Linked DNA regions of Homo sapiens: region 2 is linked to region 1. The links are contacts of gene promoters, found by promoter capture Hi-C in blood cells and fetal thymus (Javierre and others, 2016). All regions are on one chromosome and are shown on one strand. The core of a region is centred on a gene start or on the middle of the fragment in contact, and the rest is flanking DNA. Distances in the headings are between cores, read along the strand shown.

Region 1 (2,788 bases), core at 111-2,610:
GTACTCACTAACAAGTTTGGTTGAAGATAAAAGGAGATAATGCATTTAAAGCATCATGCATGTGTCAAGTTTCAAAAAACTGCAATTTTCAGGGGTAAGAAAGCGAAGAGGAGAGGAAGGAAGGAGGGTGAAAGGGAAATATGAGGAGAAAATGAAGGCAAAGTTGGTCACAATGGGGAATGTAAAATGGTCCCCTGTACCTGTTTACGGCCCGTGAAGCACAGGCACATAAATGTACAGACAGTTGCTTAATCTCATGTTTGCATGAGGGAATTTGCTGAGGAGGAGGTGAGGCTCTCGTGAAACAAGATCCATGTGAAAATCACAAGCATATAGGATATTACTCATAAAGCCACCAATGTCTGGTTACCCCACATCTCCTCATATTTTCTGTTCTTGCTGCAGAGAGGAGAGTCTGAGTAGATGGGGAGGGCCTGGGGTCAAGCCCTGGCTTGGATGACTCTGGGTGAATCACAGCACTTGTTGGCAATTGAGAGCGTGGTCTCACTTCCTAGAGGCATGATGAAAATTCATGCAGATGCTTTACATCTTTTAAAATAGTCATCCTAGCCTGGTGCAATGGCTTAGGCCTGCAATCCGAGCACTTTGAAAGACTGAAGTGAGAGGATTGCTTGAGCCCGGGAGTTCGAGACCAACTTGAGCAACATAGTAAAACCCCATGTCTACAAAAGTTAAAAAAGAAAAATAGCTAGGCATGGTGGCATGTGCCTATAGTTCCAGCTACTCAGGAGGCTGAGGTGGGAGAATTATTTGAGCCTTGGAGGTCAAGGCTGCAGTGAACCATGATCACACCACTGTACTCCAACCTAGGTGACAGAGGGAGACCCTGTCTCAAAAAAGAAAAAATAGAAATCATCCTTGGGCATCTGTAAATTGAAGTCACACTCTATTTTGATTGCTTTCCTTTGGTTTTTAAAAATATTGAAGCTGAGATAGCATGTCATGTTGAAATTGTGTATAGTCGGGTTTCATTATCCACGAATTTCATTTCAAAACAAAAAGGAGCATTACAAAATATTGGCTATGAAAATGGGGCATTGACTCAGGGTGAGAACCTGTGTGTCAAAAACATGCCTCATCTCTAAGACCTCACCCAGGTCTAACATTCCAGAATCCCAGGCAGCAGCCTTCGGAGCTCAAGTCTTACCCTCTCGCTGATCCTCTACTGACCCACGTCCCCCTGGTTTCCACTTACGGCTCAGGAAAGGATGCATCTCAAGGATCCTGGGAGCGGAAGTGACCAGGCACAAGGGTCTCAGCAAATGTCTCCAGATTAGAGTCATTTCTCCCACTCAGAAAGCCAACCCCCATGGAAGCAGATTGGAGGCCGGGCTCTAACTGCTCACTATCCTGCTGGACTTTGAGATTAAGATGGGGAGGAGGCGCTAAAAGGGGAATCCTGGAGTGGTGACTGCCCATGGCTTCAGGCAAGCCCCAGAGCTCTCTATTTCTAGTAACAGTGCCTTCAAGGGGGAGAAAAAGAGAGTGAGGAAAAGAGATAGAATGAAAATAGGAAGGAGAGAGAGAAGAGGAGAGAAAAGAAAGGAAAAGAAGAGAACAGAAGGGAAGAGGAAAGAAAGCAGGCAGATAAAGCAAAGGTCATCTGACAAGTTCTGTTAGTTTAATATTCCATCGGAGTTTCATCCGGGTACACTTTTCTCTGCAGGAGGGTGGTGCTGGGTGTGGGAGAAGGATCAGGACATGGTTGAAGGGGTCGGAGATTGTGAAACGAGGTATGTGACTAAGAGAGGAAAAAGGAAGATATGCATGAAGTGAATGAACAAATAAATTGGTTTTGGGGGTCTTAGAGAAAGAGAGGAGAAAACAATGGGGAAGGAGCCATTCCAAAGAAAAGCTGAGAGTACCAAATAGCTAGGTAAGGTTCTGGACAGCTGTGGATCATCTTATGTGTCTGAGGAAGGCAAAAGGTTGAGAGCTAAGGAGTTAGTGTGCCTTATTTTCATTATTTCTTAAATTCCTATTTATCCCACTCCAGCCTCCCCTTACCTTCAATCCCCATAAGCAAGTATTTAGCATGCTTATATATATCCTTTTGTTGGAACGCATTCTTGTAAAATGTGTATTGTTTAGGGTGAATGCAGTTTTAATTTATGTAAATATGTGTAATATGTCTTTTTTCTTTTCAGTTAGAACCATGTTTTTAAGATCCAACCAGGTTGCGAAGAGTACATCTCTTCTAGGTTTCCCACTGCTTCAGAATGGGGGACCACGTGCTTTACATGGCAGTGCCTAAGGGGGACAGTGACAAAGCTGATTGCAACTAGGGGGTCGAGGGACTGGGGATGGGTAGATATCATTAATCTTGGGTCACCCTGTAAGGGAGACAACTGACTTGGCCACATCCTTCACAAACACCTGCATAACAACCTTTTACTCCAAATGCCCATAGGAGGTGAAGGCACTAGGTAAGCAGAGGGAGTATGTTACATTCAATATAATTGTCCCTTTTTGTGTGGGTTTCCAGCTCCCAGTCAATTCTGCTTTGGGGGCAGTAGGGAGTGATCATATGAGCTGGCTGGTCACGTGCTGCAGGAGTAATCCAAGTCAGTGAGGCCAGTGGACACACAGCATCTCCCTGGGGTGCACAGTCTGTCCTGTGGTTGGACAGAGGGGAGAAAATGTTGAGTTCCTGAATTCTGGTATATGCTCTTCAGCTCTACTGGACTGTGGTCAATGTTGCCTTTGTGAACACCGCAAGTCTTCCTTGACTTGAGATTTTTCTTGGTCTGTAAGATTTGAGATTTTT
Region 2 (2,788 bases), core at 132-2,631, 910 kb after region 1:
TGGAGTATTCTCTAAATTTCTATTAGGTCCAGTTGGTTTATGATGGTGTTCAAGATAACTCTTTCTTTATTGATCATTTGTGTAGATAATCTTTCCATTACTAAAAATGGGGTATCGAAGTCCCAAGCTATTGCTGTAGTAATGTCTATTTCATCCTCAATTCCATCAATTATTGCTTCACATATTTTGGTGCTCTGTTGTTTGGTGCATATATATTTATAGCTCTTATATATTGTTGATGATATTTCATATATTATTTTTAAATGATACTTATAATATTATAATTATGTGAATGCAAACATAAAATTTTATATTGTGTAATGCCTTTCTTTGTCTCTTGTAAATATTTTTGACATATAGTCTATTTTGTCTGATATTTGCATAGCTACCTAGCCTATTTTTGTCCTCAGGTAATTCTTAAGAAAGATTATGATCTAATGCCCTAAAACTTAGCTCTAGCACTGTTTCATCAATTATTACTTCCAAACATTTCTTCAGACTCTTCCTCTCTCAGCATTTTTGTGACTGTCTCTAGTCCTGAGCCCCTCATTCTACTGGGTCATTGTGTAGGATAACTTGATTCCATCCAGCATAACACTGCCTGAACTACCATCTCAATTAACAAACTGAAAACAGCTTTGTTGTTCTTGTAATTATAAAATCATTATATAAAATCAAAAGAAGCAGAGCAATAATGTTAATCAGCAGCCGCATGCCCTTGTTCTTTCAGAGAAACATTTGAAAATCAACTGGAGACTGACTCAAATGACTCCGTAGAGTTTTGAAAACCAGTCAAAGATACACAGCAAGCAACCAAATGCCCAATCAAGAAAAAGCCACTTTCAAACAGTATAAATTTCTAATCCATTTTATTTACCTTTGCCCTGGAGTGGCAGACCACAGTCCACAGGCAAAAGCTCAATTGTGCATTCTTTCCCTCAGCCAGAAGGAGCAGAATAGAAACTATTTACAACATTCTAACCTGTCTGTTGGCTACTTAGTGACTGGTTTGTCTCACCTAATTCAGAGCTCACACTGGGAATGGTGACATAGCTCAGATTTCAAGCTGACAGAAGTCATAGAAAGCAGTGGTAGGTACCATGACGTATGAAAGCTTAAGGGATACTGCAGACCTATGAAGGCTTGGGTCAAGAAGTTATGGACAGAAGAATATAATAGAACATCTAAAGTCCAAGAAGAGTCTGGGCGAGGTTCATTGGGAAATTAAGGCATTCAAAAACAGTTGAGCATACAGAGGGAATTGGAGGAAGAAAAGCACACACAAAAGTCCAGATGAGACACATAACCAAAAAATACCTGAGAAGACCTTAATCTTGATCAAAACACTCAAAACATGCTCTTCCATGCCAGACTGCAAAGACTGACAGAAGTAACTAATTGTTCAAATGTCCAATTTTCAACAAAAGATCACAAGGCATACAAAGAAATAGTCAAAATGCATAATTTTGAAAAACAAAATAAATATCCAGAAACCCTTCCTAAAGAAACACAGGCATTGGACTTACTACACAAATATTTTTAAAGAAACTCTCTTAAATATGCCCAAGGAGCTCATGGAAAACATGGGAAAAAAACTAAAGTAAACAAGAAAAACAATATGTAAACACATTTAGAATATCAACAAAGAGAAAGCTTTCAATTTAAAACAGGAAATTTTTGGAGCTCAAATATGAAATCATTAAATTGAATTTTTTTCTCGTGGGCAAAAGAAATAATCAGTGAACTTGAAGACAAATTATTTGAAATTGTCAAGTCTGAGAAAGAAAAAGAAAAAAAGAATGAACAAAATGTAAGGGACAATAGGACATTATCATGTGGATCAATATGTGCACTACGAGAGAAAATGAAAGGGAAAGAAAGGCTATTTGAAGAAATAATGGCAGATAACATGATTCTATATATGTAAAACTTTAAAAATAACATACACACACACACACTAAAGATTAAAAATCTATTAGAACTAATAAACAAATTCAGCAAAGTCGAAGGAAAAAAGTCAAGTCTCCAAAGTCAGCTGCATTTCCATACACTAACAATGAACAAATCAAAAAAGAAATTAGGAAAACAATTTCAACAATAATATCAGAGAGAATAAAATAAACTTAACCAAGGAGGTGAAAGATTTTACATTTAAAACATGAACATTTTGCTGAAAGAAAGTAGACACACACACAAAAATGGAAAGGCATTCTGGCTTCATGAATTGGGACACTTATTAAGATGTCAAATATGTACAATCCAAAGGGATGTACATATTCTATACAAACCCTATCAAAATCCCAATAACTTCTTTTGCAACAGAAAAATCATTCTAAAATGTGTAAGAAATATCAAGAACCCTGAATATTCAAAATAATATTGAAAAAGAGCAGAGAAGAAGTTCTCACAATTGCTGATTTCAAAACATATTACAAAGTTACAGTAATCCAAGTAGTGTAGTACTGCCATAAAGATAGACACATGGACCAGTGGAATAGAAGACTGAGCCCGGAAATAGACTTTTGCATTATGGTCAAATAAATTTTGATGACAGTGAAATGGGAAAGTTCCCTGACCCCCCCTCACAGGGTATGTGACAAGGGTGTGGCTTGTCAGTTTGGCCGCAGCCTCCGCTGCTGCTCAAACTCCTTACAGAAGGGGGAGCATGCAGACGGGCAGGTGCATGAGCCTGGGTGAGTGCTTTGGGGCTCTGGCCCCACAGCAGTATATAAGGGTGGGTGCCTGCAACTCCTAAAGCCCACGTGAGCATGGTGTGTGTTACAGTGCA

What was found. The method cuts DNA at HindIII sites, captures the fragments that hold promoters and counts their contacts. A CHiCAGO score of 5 or more calls a contact.
Region 2: a fragment that was not itself captured here is called in contact with the fragment with the promoter of AGXT2 in region 1 in 3 of 17 cell types (total CD8 T cells, erythroblasts and activated CD4 T cells); the score reaches 9.1 in total CD8 T cells.

What each region holds. Positions count from the first base shown.
Region 1 is chr5:35,046,589-35,049,376 of GRCh38, forward strand. AGXT2 (alanine--glyoxylate aminotransferase 2) reads right to left here and starts at 1,361. Exons shown (of 14, transcript NM_031900.4): 1 at 1,217-1,361. The coding sequence starts at 1,304. It also overlaps a transcript of PRLR not described here. The HindIII fragment of the contact is 8,089 bases long and covers 1-2,788 here.
Region 2 is chr5:35,957,854-35,960,641 of GRCh38, forward strand. The region is part of intron 4 of UGT3A1 (UDP glycosyltransferase family 3 member A1); the gene reads right to left. Among named protein-coding and RNA genes, the nearest start is that of CAPSL-DT, 20 kb to the left of the region's middle. The HindIII fragment of the contact is 539 bases long and covers 1,113-1,651 here.